Regions from separate parts of the Homo sapiens genome. Here regions 1, 2 and 4 are each linked to region 3. The links are contacts of gene promoters, found by promoter capture Hi-C in blood cells and fetal thymus (Javierre and others, 2016). All regions are on one chromosome and are shown on one strand. Each heading gives the region's core, a stretch centred on a gene start or on the middle of the fragment in contact. The rest is flanking DNA. Distances are from core to core; before and after follow the strand shown. Region 1 overlaps ECHDC1 (ethylmalonyl-CoA decarboxylase 1). Region 2 overlaps RNF146 (ring finger protein 146). Region 3 holds the start of HINT3 (histidine triad nucleotide binding protein 3). Region 4 overlaps MTCL3 (MTCL family member 3).

Region 1 (3,463 bases), core at 317-2,816, 1.3 Mb after region 3:
TCCTCCTGCCTCATCCTCCCTCAGGAATGGGACTACAGGCGTGTGCCACCATGCCTGGCTATTTTTTTTATTTTTTGTGTCTCACTATGTTGCCCAGGCTGGTCTCCAACTCCTGAGCTCAAGCAATCCTCCTGCCTTGGCCTTCCAAAATGCTGGGATTGCAGGCATAAGCCACCACAGCTGACCTATACTTTTTATGTTATTTTAGAGTGTTATTTTACTTTTATATGTAGAAAATTAAATGTAAAATAGCCTCAGGCAGGTCCTTCAGGAGGAATTCCAGAAGACAGCATTATTATCATAGGAGATCACAGCTCCATGCATGTTACTGCCCCTGAAGATGTTCCAGTGGGGTAAGATGTGGAGGGGTAGGACAATGATATATGTGGAGGGGTAGGACAATGATATGGATGATCCTGACTCTATGTAGGCCTAGGCTAATGTGTGTGTTTGTCTTAGCTTTTAATAAAAAAAAAAAAAAACTTTTAAAAAAGATGAATAAAATAAAAATAGAAAAAGCTTATAGAATAAGGATATAAAAAAAGAAAATACTTTCGTTCAGCTGTAAAATGTGTTTGTGTTTTACATGAAGTGCTATTACAAAAGAATAAAAAAGTTTTTTAAAATTAAAAAGCTTATATAGTACAAAAGTTACAGTTAATACTGTCTTCTGGAATTTCTTCTGAAGGACCTGCCTGAGGCTGTTTACATTTAATTTTTTATGTGTAAAAGTAAAAGGAGTACATTCTAAGTGTACAGTAATGTCCTAGGCCTTCACATTCACTTGCCACTCACTCACTCACTTACCCAGAGAGACTTTCAGTCCTGCAAGCTCGATTCACCATAAATACCCTATATGAGCATTCAATTTTTTATCTTTTATACAGTATTTTTACTGTACCTTTTCATTTAGATACACAAATACTTACCATTGTGTTACAACTGCCTATAGTATTCAATACAGTAACAGGCTTTACAGGTTTGTAGCCTAGGAGCAATAAGCTATACCATATAGCCGAGGTATGTAGTAAGCTGCACCCTAGATGGTATCATTAGGTTTGTTTAGCTACATACTATGATGTCTGCACAACAACAAAATCACGTAATGACACATTTGTCATAATGTGTTCCTATCATTAAGCAATACATGACTGTATGTGGGTACTATTACTGTTTTCTAAAAAGCATCTAAGCAAGCATTTAAAAAAATAAAAATACAGTTTACAAAATTAACTTAGAGTAACAAAGTTAGCACTTTTCACTGGCAATCAAACAGAAATATAAAAGTTAGCAACAAATCTGACAATTAAATTCCCTATGCCAAGCCCATACGTGGTAGGTAGATTGGCCCCGAAGAGATGACCTAATCTCTGGCAACTGTGCATGTGTTACCATACATGGCAAAAGAGACTGCAGATGTAACTAAAGTTAAATCCTTAAAATAGGAAAATTATCCTGGATTAACTGAGTGGACCCAATCTAATCATGAGAACACTTAAAAGCAGAGAAATGTTTCCAGCTGTAGTCAGAGAAATGCAGCATAAGGATAAATAAGAGAGATTCAAAGTATGAGAGGAACTTGACTCACCACTGCTGGAGGAGCCACATGGAAAGCATGAGAAAGAATTCAGAAAGCATCTAGGAGCAAAGACTCATCCCCCATCTGGCAGCAAGGAAACAGGGACTTCAGTCCTTCAAGTGCATGTAACCAAATTCTACCAGTTGGAACCTGGGTGAGCCTGGGAATGAATCCTCCCCTAGAGTCTTCAGAGCCCACTGCAACTGACACTTAGATTTTGGTCTCATGAGACAAGGTTTAGAAAAACCAGCTGAGCCCAGCTAGACTTCAGACCTATACATCTGTGAGATAATAACGTGTTGTTTTAAGCCACAGAATTTGTGGTAGTTTGTTATAGCAGCAATAGAAAACTACATGTATTAGCATTTTCTTAATTTATATTTCATTCTAAATATCTTTAATTTGTCAAGGTGGATTAAAAAATGAGAGGCTATATTACCACATTTCTAGCTTTTCATTTCCTCACATTAATTTTGTCACTAAAATGGAAACATAATGCTTGACTAGATTCTGACCATTGAAAAATACCAATTTTTAATTCATGTTAGTCTTTTACTTTTAAAAATGTTTTTTAAAAGCCATTTTCTCTTGGAATATTTTACATGAAAAGTATGACTCAAGTGAGGGTCTATCTATGCAAAGTAGAACTGAGTGTTTCCGACATACGTATACATTACATCTATTACCAGCTGGTGCTCACAGGGTTTTGCGGGAAGGGGACAGTGTTAGAATGCTACATGAGTTCATTTCTTTTATATATTCATATTAAGTGTATCTCCATCTGCTGAAGTACTTCCATTGGCATGGATGAAAATGTCAGTTGAGTGAATTCCAGGCAATTCTCCAAGGTAAGAAAGTTAAACAAGCGAAAAGGGCCAACACATATAAAGAAGGAACTTATCTTTTTAGCAAACGCTATGAAAGCTTTCGGTGTTTTTTTAGAACAAGCAGACATTCTTAGGAAATAATTAAAATAATCTGTCATAGAAAGTAACTGATGAGGTACTGATAAAATTAAGTGGAAAAAATCAGCTAGAGGAACTTGTACTGATTTATCACTTCCTGGAAACTGGGGCTAGTAATGTAGTTCATTCAGTATGCAATCCTCTCTATTAGCCTCTAACATTTAAGAACTATAGTTGCTTTTGGTATGCGGGTTTTAAAAGGGCTGAGTAGCCTAGGACAGTGCTTGTCAAATTTCTCTGGTCAAGGATCAATTTCTTCTTCATTTTTAAAGAAACTTTCTAATCGATTGCAGACCAATAATTTTGTAAAATATAACAAAAACATATTACTAGAAAAATGAAACAAAAAACCAAGACACAAGGTTTGTGAATGGCTGTGCCTAGCACATGTGGGTGCTGAAATATGTTTAATAAACAGACACCACTTTCAGAAAAGCTGGTTCAAAAATGGATAGGTTTTCATCAGAAGCTTCTCAACAAAAGCACCTGGTATATCCAGATACTGAGAGTAGGCAGTACCCTCAGACATCTTGTAACAAATAAAATTAAATATTTAATGAAGCTCTAGGATGCATTACATTTTCTTCAATTAGAGAATGACAGCTAGGCAATTTAGCAGTATTAAAGGATTAAATAATCTCTGATTATTTTTCCTGCTATTGTGCTTTTTTGTCCTAAACCCTAACTACACTTAAACATAGATGAGAAATCAATATGAAGAATAGTACAAAAGTCTAATAAAGGTGAACACCGGAATCTATGTTAGAGGGTTTTCACTTGTTCCAAATAACATCTAAAAAGTCTTAATTTTCATTTCCTTTTACACAGAGGATTTTTCAGTGTAATAATGCACACTTGCATGTAGCTTAAGATTCTTTTTTTTTTTCTTTTTGAGACAGAGTCTCGCTCTTGTTGCCCA
Region 2 (3,590 bases), core at 223-2,722, 1.3 Mb after region 3:
GAAACTTACATCAGCAACCTCCCTCTAATTATCTTATACTTGCATTACTACCTGGATATTCTAGTTTCCCTTTCGCCATACCTCCTCCTGCATTACCAAACTTTCCTCCAACCTGCTGTTCAAATGGTCTGGAAGCTACTAAACTGGCTGTTATTTCCTGACGTAAAACCTTTCAGTGAACTCCTCTTGTCTCATTAGTGGTTCATATGTGGACCAGCTTCATAGAAATCCTTAAGCCCCTTGAAATTATATGTAGGATTGTTCCCTTTTTGTGTGTCTGTAATTGGATTCTAAATTCAGACTTTAAAAATCTGATTTTTAATATTTGGAGTTTTTATTGCAAGCTAAAAATTTCTTGAATACTACACATACTAAAGATCTTTTTTGCTTATAATAATTTTGCCTTTCATTTGACTAGTTGTCCAAGAAGTTTCAAGGAAATCTGAGTTCTTGGAGATTTCCACTAACTCTGCCCATACCCCTCTATATTTTGTCTTCTTGAGAAGAAGACTTAGTATTAATAGACTCTTATTAGTCTGGCAGAAATATTTCACATGGTTTATCTATTGGAAGAAGGGGATTTATACTTAAAAGTTGGAATATCACATGAAGAATTCAGTAAAAACGTCTTTGAAAGTAAATGATGTATTATACTTATTAATAGAATTGGACTAACGTCACTCCAAATTTCTGTGTATTAAATTCTTAGTTTAGTAAACTGGAAATAAATTCCCTTTTTCAAAATTAGAATTTTCTGAGACATTTATGAGATAGGGAATACCTCTTTTGATTAGCATTAATACTTGCTCTACACAAAGGGAGGGGAAAAGCTTTCTTATTTACATATTGGTATGATCATCTGCATACATTTAGTCTCCCACCTATTTTAAGATCATTGGAACTGCAAAACAGAGACTGTGTAGGGTAGATTAAAATGGTTTTTTAAAAAGCCTTGAAGTATGTCTTATAGGTAGACTAGCAGTTTGGGGTTACTTTGTGTCTATCTTGTTACACATTTTATCTCTATCTTACTTATTGCATGTGCCTCATTCAGAATTAAATAAGAAATATCACTAAGTTTTTCTGCCCATTTGTTAGTTGGTGATAGACTAACAGTATACTTGATGGGCTAAACAGAATCAGAATTTATAAATTGCTATGGCAAATTGATAGTTAAGAGTGCTTCAGATGAAATAATGACCATTTAGCTGTCTGGTGTCCATTGTTTGCAGATTAACTTTGTCCAACTTCACTTCATTCTGATGATGGAACCAAAATACCTGCACAAACAGGATTGTTTTGCCTTTCCAATTATGTTATTATAATTCATGCCTTCTCCTGGGATGATTGTAATTGCTTTCTTAGTTTTGAAATTATGTGTTTTGGTTTATTCATAAATGCAAGAGTAAGAGTCATGCAAAATATTAATCATATTAAGTAGGGTGGAGGATAATGTTTTTAGGTTGGAAACTTTTTTTTCTGTAGATAAACGAGCTGTATGTGATGGAAAACTGACTTCTTGGGCCCATTTTACTTAAAGCAAATACAATAGGTTTGGAATTATGTATTTAAAAGCATGGCATTGGTCCACGTGACATGTTGGGTGTCTTGTTTTCATTTTACCAGACTCTGTTTTTATTTATGTTTTCAGTTTATGATCCTGTCCTTTGTTCATAAGGTACTTAGATGGTTTAAGATGTAGACTTCTTATATGAAGATGTTGCTGTTGTTTTTCCAAAGTAATGGTGGTCATCAGCCCATTTTTCTATTTAGTCTCATGAATAGAATCATGAGTAGAATCTTTCTTAAATTATTACTTGTAAATGGATCACTTTCTTGTTTTCTTTTTCTTAATTGGAGCTTTAAATAAATATGGAACTTGGAACAAAAAGATTTTCAGGAATTTTATGGAAACTAACTTTTTTGACCTAAATCGAAAGGGATGAAAGTTTCTGAAAACCTAACAAAATGTGTGCACAGCCAATTCTTTTAGGGGAGGAAATAGGCAGGGAATGTGTAATTGGCTATTTTAAAAACATATGCCTTCTTTTGTAACTTATTGTTGTTTCAAGTTACAAGATCTTTGAAGGCAAGTGTTTATCTCAAAATATTTGAAAGCTTTTATAGTGCTTAACATACTAAGACGTCCTATTAGGGTTTACTTAGAACAAGCTTATCCAACTTGTGGGCCACATGTGGCCCAGGATGGCTTTGAAAGCGGCCTAACACAAATTCATAAGCTTTCTTAAAACATTATGTGATTTTTTTTTTTAGCTTATCAGCTATCATTAGTGTTAATGCATTTTATGTGTGGCCCAAGACAATTCTTTTTCTTCCAGTGTGGCCCAGGGAAACCAAAAGATTAGACACCCCTGACTTAGAACTTTCCATAGGTTAGGAGAAAGTTGTACTTTCTTGATGTCTATAACCTAGAATTTCTGGTAAAGGAATTGATTGGAAATGTTATTAAAAGTTGAAAATAATTTGGAAATTAAACATTTTAGTGATCAGTTCTTCCATTGAGACTGTGTTGGTTCCTTTACTAGATATGTGCCATCTTTTTAAAAACTTACTGTGTTGCTTCCTTTACTAGAAAATTGCCATCTTTTTGAGCCTTGTCTATTGAGGAACCAAGAACACAGAAAAGGCAGTAAAAAGAAAAAAAAGGATTGTTTGAAGATTGAATGTGCTGTGATGATAGCCTAGGATTATTGTTTTTCAATTTTTGATGAGCGTAAGCATTCTTGTTGACTATATCTTTTGTAACTACTGACCCATTTAGAATGGCAGAATTAGCTGGCAGAGAGATTGTCATTCATTTTAAGCTTTCAATCTCTGACATCTTCATCTTTATTTCTCAGTCTTTTTTACTTATCAGTGGTTTACTCCATTATTTTCTCCCCTTTTAAAATGTCTTTTTTTTTTTTTTTTTACCATGGGGAAAAAAATTAGATGTTTCCTTGGCAGGGCACAATAACACAATAAGGCTTTCATGACTTAACTTTTGATTACCTTTACACCTTCATCTCCTGCTCTTCCATTGCTTGTATGACTATTTGACTCAGTGTCTTGCATGTGCTTCTGCCTGGAATCTGCTCCACTGCCCAGCCCCTCTGAATGAACACTAAACTTTCTAACCTATGTCCATCCTCTCATCTCTCTCTTACTGTTATTTTAGTAAGTATGTTAACACATTTTGATTACGCAGGAATCAGGCCATATTGTAATTATCTGCATGTATGTTTCCTTATTTAACAGAGTAGTTGTGTGTCTTATTTATCTTTAGACCCATCAGTACTTAGTATTGTATCTGGAACATGGCAGGTGTTTAGTAAATGTTTATCTGAATCAATAAGGCAGAAATTATAAATTTTATGTCAGTGTTTAAGCTAGATACATCCAATTTGACAAATCTTTTTTCTTCTTCCTCTTCAGGGGATCTTCAATATTCATGTTATTTTCTCCTTTGGTCTTATATGATTGTTACCTTTATGAAGCTTTAGTGATTACAAAGCACTTTTTTTGTCCATTTTTACCTGAGCTTTGTAAACTCTGATTTGCAGGTAAGGAAATTTAGACTAATGGTTTAA
Region 3 (3,504 bases), core at 161-2,660:
TGAAAACCTGTTATATGAATTTGCAAGAGGATGTGCTTATGTCAGTTTGGCTAAAGAAAATTTCATGAAGGAGGTAGCATTGGAGGGGTGGCTTGGAAGGTAGAATTTGGAGTGAAGAGATGGAAACAAGAATATTTGAGAGAGAACTGTGTGAATAAAAGCAGTGATGTGAAGGTGTAGTACAGGCATGGAAATTGTGAATACTAAAATTTGGCAAAACTCTAATGTATTGATTCTGAACTCTGCTTTGGGGTGCTGAAAGGCAGTGAAGCTATTGTAGTGGTTCCCCAAACTACGGGCCAACTACAAAAAGGAATGAAAAATGTCTTGAATGTATATGTACAACAATTCAAAACACATACAACCACTTTTTATTACAACATAAATCCATTAAAAATCATTACTGAATTCCCAATTTGTTATGTATTTTCTAAATCAGCAAATACCAAGGGTGTAACTACTATAGTGAGCTAGTCCAACAAATTTTTTGGTGTTAAAAAAGGAGTGCTGTATGTCAAAAAGGTTGGTGGGTTTTGGAGTTAGACAAACCTTGATCTTAAACTCTGTCACTATTAATTAGTTGTGTGGGACTGGGCAACTCTGAGTTTGGTCCTTCATCTCTAGAGCGGTGGTTATAAAACCAACCTTGCGTTTTTTGACAATTAGAGAAATATATGGCATGTTTTAGATGCTCAGCAAGTGGGAAGTATCACAAAACGAAAAGCTGAGGTCAAATCAGAGTCCACCTTGAACACCAAGCTAAGGAACTGGTACTTTTTCTTTGAGCACATAGTTACAGAAGGTTTTGTCTGAGTGACAGGAAAATCAATAAGTAAGTTAGAAGGTGATTGCGTTGGTCTAGGTGAGGCATTATGAGGCACTGGCATTGAATTTCTGGGATATTTCAGAGTATTGACTATAGGACTCCACATCTACTTGTATATGAGGAATGTGAGATTAAAAAAAAGGTCGCTAGTTTGATCTAACTGTGCTGTTAACAACAATAAAAAGTCAACAGAGATGTAAAGGTCAGTTTTGGACATTTTGAGTTTAAACTCCTACAATTATCGTGGCTGAAAAAGCAGCAAACATGATGTCTGTTGAAAACAAGGCTTTAGGAATTTTGCTCATTCTTTAAAAACCTACGAATTTTAAAAATCAAACTTTAAAAAACTTTTTGTTTTTTTTTTTAAAAAAACGGCAGCGTAATACAATATTTGGACACGCTATACTATGGGCTTTGAAGAACGCCTGTCCAGAACACCCAACAAGCTCCATTATGTCAAACGCTCCCGCGCCTCTGTGATGTCACCACGACGCGCTGGGCGCTCTGCGACTTGGCAGACGTCGTGCGTCATTACCAACGAGGCGCAGGGGTCAGGACGACTCTCGGCAGCGCCATTGCGCGCCCTCTAGTGGCAGCCGGTTTTGAGGCCGGCCTCCGGCTTTGAAGTTCCTCACCGCGTCTCCTTCCCTCTCCCCAAAGCCTGGATCACCGCCCAGCGTCAGGCGAGGGGCGACGTCTCGAGGTAAAACGGAGGAGGTGCGGGACGCGGAGACTGCGCGGGCCCGGTAGCCCTGGAGAGGCCGAGGCTCTAGGCCGCGAGGGGCGGGTGCAATGGCGGAGGAACAGGTGAACCGCAGCGCCGGCCTGGCCCCCGACTGTGAGGCCTCGGCGACTGCAGAAACTACGGTTTCCTCAGTGGGGACCTGTGAAGCCGCTGGCAAGTCACCAGAGCCCAAGGACTACGACAGCACCTGCGTGTTCTGCCGGATCGCGGGGCGGCAGGACCCGGGCACCGAACTCCTGCACTGCGAGGTGGGCGGCGACGCGCGGCCGGGGGTGGGTGAGGACCTGGCCGCCCCTCGGAGCTCCGGCAGGGAGGCCTCGCCGTTGTGGAGCGGGTGCAGAGGATCCCGATCGCTACTCAGCTCGCAGAGGCAGGGCCGCTCTGTGTGGATGGGGCTCGGGGAAGCTGGGGATACGCCCACTACGGGCCTTTCTGCAGGGTCCGGGTGCTGATGACAGACTCACTCCTAGGGGACTGACAGGCAGTGGCTCCAGCGGTATCTTTGCTGTTCCCAGGGGCAAAGAGTGAATGACAGGGCCGAATGCTTTGGCCTATGTTTGCAGGTACCCAGGTAGTTGGTACAAATAACATTTTGTGGCCTCTGCTTTTATTACAAGGATTCTTCTCCACCTTCAAGATACTGATTTTAAATCCTGCACACTCTAATACCGATACTGATGAGAAAACTAGTAGAAAATAGGTAATGATAATTGTGGAAAGCTGTTTGTTAGATTGGCAGAAAATAGGCTGGAGGGAGTGGGTCTGAGGTCAAACTATTATTGAATTGCCTCTGAATTCCACTGTCAGTTGGGATGCGTGGACATTTTCAGAGCATGAAGACTTTGCCCAGATATTTTTAAACGGATAATCTGGCACACACTTTATTCTGTTGGTTTTACTTGTCCATATAGAAACAACTTTTTGAGAGAATTAGCTCCAAAGATTGTGTCTTTTGTAGTAAACATTCCTTTATTTTTTAAAAAATAAATATAATTCCTTCTAAGCACCTTGTTTTGGAGGTTTTTGAGCAAGATAAGGGACAGTCTGTGTCCCGATTTTACAATCTAAAGGGCGGAATGTATACAGAGGAGGTAGCCAGTTACAATGCCTCGTGCTGTGGTCAGGTGATTTTACAGTATTTTGTAAGCTTGTGGGAGGAGCATCTAACCCAGCTCTGAAGAATTAGGGAAGGCTTTCCAGAGGAAATGAGACATGAAGAAATAAGTAGGAGTTGATCAGATGAGGAAATGGAGAGAATAATGTCCCAGGTTGAGAGACCCCCCGAGAGGTTCAGTTTGTGTGATAGAAAAACTAACAGAAATTGTCTAACTAGTGCATAGAGTTTGAGAGGATGAAAGGCGAGGCTGGAGAGGTAAACAAGGGACCAGATTATTAAGTGTGTTGGAAGTCATGTGAAGGAATTTGTCTTTATCTGAAGAGCAAAGTGAAACTTCACAATGTTTAATGGTGGGTTGGGAGGAAGATGTTGCGGAGTTATAGGAAGGGGGTTGATCTTTGAAAGGTCATTCTGGCATCATTGTGGAGAATGATTTGGAGGAGACCAGTCTGGAGGTATGGAGACCCGTTAGAAGGCTAGTAGATTAATCTACCCTGATGATGGCCTGAAATGAGAATGTGGTAGAGGAGATTATGAAAAGTATATCAATTTAAGGGATACAGTATTCAGGAGGTAAAACAGGGAGGACTTGATGGATACAGGTCAGTGATTCTCAACTGGGGGCAATTTTGCCCTCCCAGGGTACATTTTGCAATGTATTGAGATACTTTTGATTGTAACAACTTCTGGCACTTCTAGGGGTTGCTTCTGGGACCTAAATAATGGATAAAAGCCAGGGTTGCTATTAACATGGTACAGTGCACAGGACAGCACCCCCACCACCCCATCAACACACACACATAAAACAGGCTTATC
Region 4 (3,361 bases), core at 9-2,508, 1.6 Mb after region 3:
GGGGGCCCTCCGCCGCCGCCGCCATTGGGGAGGCGGAGGCGACGGCCAGGGTCTCGCAAACGGCAGGGGGGCCAGACACCGGGGAGCTGCGGCTACTGCTGCCGCCGCCGTTCTTAGCGTGCATCTGAGCCGCGGCCGCCGCCGCTGCCGCCCGCTCCTTCTTGAGATGGAACTGGATGAGCTCAGACTGCAGACATCCTTCTTTCCAGTAGCTCCCTCCACCACCGCTGCCGCCCCCCGCAACGCCGCTTCCGGAGTTTCTGCTGCCGGTTCCTGGGGTTTTGCCCGCAGAAGAGGAGGATGGAGAAGGGGAGGCCCCCTCCCCGCCGCTGCCGCCCCTCTGCTGAGCGCGTACGCCTTTCCCTCGCCAGCCCCTGGGCGGCGGCGGCTGCGGAGCGCCCCCCTCCCTTTCCCCGGAGCCGCCGCCGGCTCCTCCTCCTTCCCCGCCCCCTCCTCCCCCTTCTCCGAGCGGAGGGGGTTCCCCGAGTTTCGAGGGCACGGACTCTAGCTCCCGAGGCGGCTCCTCGGGCGGTCCGGGCCTCCTGCCGCCCAAAGCGGCCAGGGTCGCGGCGGGGGCCGCTTCAGCACCAGCCACAGGCTGGACAGCTCCCGGAGCGGCCCCTTTGGGCGCCAGGGGCGTCGCCTTCTCGGCCCCACCTCCGCCTCCTCGGATGCTGGCGGGCGGCCCCGTGCGGCTCCCGGTCTTGTTACCCTGCTGTTGCTGCTGCTGCAGCTGCTGCTGCCGAACAGAATTGAGTTTAGTGCCGGCCCCCACTGGGGACCGGGTGGCCGCGATTGTCTGTCGCAGCGAACTGTCCCTCGGTCTAGCGGGTGACTGAGCTCGCTGCTGCTTTCTGCTGCTGCCCTCCGGGTGCAGACGAGCCTCAGTGGCTGCAGCGGCGGGAGAAGCTGCTGCTGTGGCAGGGGCAGCGCCCCCGATTGGTGGCTGACTCATGGCTATGAACCTACCAGATGCGATTTGGAAGAGCCCATTACTAGATCATCCTCTTCCCTCTTCACCGCCGCCAACCTTCCTTCCTAAGCTGGGACAGAAACAAAAGGAGAGAAGAAGACAACATGTCTGAATTTTTGCAGAGCAAAGGGTGATATTGCTCCATTTGGATGGCGCTTAATAGAAGCTTTGACTTTAGGAATAGGATGCAGGGCTGTCTTTAGGAATAGGATGGAGGGCTGTCAATTCTCATTTTGCCCAGGGTGGCGCTGTCTCCATCTCACTCCACCTCAGCAAAATGACGGATCTGAAAGCAGCTGAACCTTACATTCTCATGGTAGCAGGCTTTGGAAAGGGTGAGATACAGAGTCAGACAGGAATTGATGGAAAGGGAGATATAAAAGAAAAGAGGATAAAGTGGAAAAGAAGCTTCAGAAAGAAAAGATATCCATATATTAGAGTTGTCAACTCTGCTTTTACAACTTTGGCTTTCCTTACCATCAAATCCATATGTAAAGCCTAGTTTACTGGAGAAAGTTTTCATTTAATTAGTATTCCCAAGTTCAATTAGAGGAAAAGGGTTATGATGTAGGGTTCCTAGAGAATATTTTCTACGGATAAATGACACTTTCCCCAGGCAGCTCCAACCCTTAATGTTGTTTTTGGGAAAATGCACCCAACTTCCTTTATAATAGAACTAAAAGAAAATATAAATAATGAATGCCTTTAAATCAATCTCAGTTTCAAGAAAATAATAGCATTAAGAATTGTCTATATGGGTTAGTTATTAGCAACCCAAAAACGTATTTTTTCCCTTTTGGGAAATAATTTTTAAAATACATTTGGAAAAGTTGTGGTCAGTTCTGCAGTTTCCTAAGTTTCTGGTGATGAATTTTCCTATGCTTACCCAGTTTTGTAGTCTTATGAATCACTTTAGTTTTAAGTGTAATTGCTAGATAGAAAATATTTTCATTCTTAGCCATCTTCTTACATCGCATATCATAGGCAAAAGTTGTACTTTTTAAAGTGCCCATTTCCTCCTATATAGCAATTCTGAGACAGAACCCAGAAGGCTGGTGCATCTTCCCTCATGGTGGTAAGATCAATTTCCAGTATGTGTATTTCCAAGATAAATCCGTCACTAGCTTCTTTAATCTGAAAAATAGCAAGTTACTGCCTCATGGGTTCCTCTCCCTAGGGATCCAGGCAGCTAGTCAATTAGTTGCCTTTTCCTTAAAATTATTTCTGTCTAAAGCACTGAAAGGGGCATGACTAGGCATAAATTTCTCCTTTAAAAATATTTGTTCTATACAGAGAGCAGATTACTTTACTGCCAGTTATTTTACTTGCATTATTCTTGTTAACATCTATTGTTAGCATCACAACTTAGCATGCAGTAATTCCTCATTTTATAAAGAAATATTACCGAAGGGTTCCTAATCCACCTCCCTTTCTGTTTCTGGCATCTCCTTCCAACTCACTTTGAAATATAAAGGTGAACAAAGAAGACATCGGGGGAAAATTGCCCACCAACTTGTTTTCTACATCTTCTCTCCCAGTCGCGATACTACTAGAATGTCTGGCCTAGTTTATCATCATGGGTGGCACTAACATGGGCTATCTAACTAACTTATATTGCCAATGCAAACTTATTTTTGTTTTTAATCAGGCAGAATAATTCCAGAGCTGAGAAGCCAATGTTTAAACTCAGCCCTCAGACAGCATTAACCCAGGCGAAAGCTTGTGTTCCAGTAACTGGGCTCCACAATCAAAGGTATCCGGCTGCTGTCACGTGGTTCCCACAAAGTGACAAGATGCTGCATCTCTTCAAGGCTTTCCCGGTGAAAATTATCACCCAACCAACCCCTGCACGGCTTAGACCAACACTTTTAATCTCAAGTTTTATCCGCCTGCTAACCCACCCCATCATTCATCCCCAACCCTTTAGAAATCCAGAACTTGCTCACTTCTCAGCAGAGGCGAGGTTTCCAAGTAGCTGAACAAATCAACAGCACTTTCCTTCTGATATTCCGGGGATCTCAGGGTTTATTATTGTGCCTTTCTGCGCCGAGGAAAGTTCAACTTCATATTATTGTATGCGACTTTCCGGCTGAGCATGACTTTGGGCTCGCTCGCCGCAGTTCCACACCCACTCGATTTCTCCAAACAATGGCGGTAACGTCAAGATTCAGCTGCCCCCAGAGCGGGTGACTTCCCGGCGGTCCGCGGCTGGGCTGGAGCTGCAGCTCTCAGCAGGCTAACACGCGAGGTACCAAGCTGGGCCAGACGCTCCCCAGGAAGTGCAGAGATGTTCATGAGCTGACCTCACCGAACTGGGCAGGAGAGAAGGCGGGATTGCAAGGGACGATAGGGTAGAAGTAACCAAAGAGAGGTTACTTTCAAGAGGAA

Evidence for each region. The method cuts DNA at HindIII sites, captures the fragments that hold promoters and counts their contacts. A CHiCAGO score of 5 or more calls a contact.
Region 1: a fragment that was not itself captured here is called in contact with the fragment with the promoter of HINT3 in region 3 in 1 of 17 cell types (total B cells); the score reaches 9.3 in total B cells.
Region 2: a fragment that was not itself captured here is called in contact with the fragment with the promoter of HINT3 in region 3 in 3 of 17 cell types (naive CD8 T cells, naive B cells and erythroblasts); the score reaches 7.2 in naive CD8 T cells.
Region 4: a fragment that was not itself captured here is called in contact with the fragment with the promoter of HINT3 in region 3 in 7 of 17 cell types (total CD8 T cells, non-activated CD4 T cells, naive CD8 T cells and 4 more); the score reaches 9.7 in total CD8 T cells.

Annotation. Positions count from the first base shown.
Region 1 is chr6:127,298,981-127,302,443 of GRCh38, forward strand. The region is part of intron 5 of ECHDC1 (ethylmalonyl-CoA decarboxylase 1); the gene reads right to left. Among named protein-coding and RNA genes, the nearest start is that of RNF146, 34 kb to the left of the region's middle. The HindIII fragment of the contact is 1,869 bases long and covers 633-2,501 here.
Region 2 is chr6:127,282,615-127,286,204 of GRCh38, forward strand. The region is part of intron 2 of RNF146 (ring finger protein 146); the gene reads left to right. Among named protein-coding and RNA genes, the nearest start is that of RNF146, 18 kb to the left of the region's middle. The HindIII fragment of the contact is 1,288 bases long and covers 829-2,116 here.
Region 3 is chr6:125,955,360-125,958,863 of GRCh38, forward strand. HINT3 (histidine triad nucleotide binding protein 3) reads left to right here and starts at 1,411. Exons shown (of 5, transcript NM_138571.5): 1 at 1,411-1,819. The coding sequence starts at 1,619. RefSeq lists enhancers at 1,424-1,523, 2,584-2,633 and a silencer at 1,694-1,913. The HindIII fragment of the contact is 9,214 bases long and covers 1-2,716 here.
Region 4 is chr6:127,515,660-127,519,020 of GRCh38, forward strand. It overlaps MTCL3 (MTCL family member 3), which reads right to left. Exons shown (of 7, transcript NM_001400265.1): 1 at 2,920-3,361; 2 at 1-1,043. The coding sequence starts at 955. It overlaps SOGA3-KIAA0408 (SOGA3-KIAA0408 readthrough), which reads right to left. Exons shown (of 13, transcript NR_174482.1): 1 at 2,920-3,361; 2 at 1-1,043. Among named protein-coding and RNA genes, the nearest start is that of MTCL3, 2.0 kb to the right of the region's middle. RefSeq lists a silencer at 360-589. The HindIII fragment of the contact is 242 bases long and covers 1,138-1,379 here.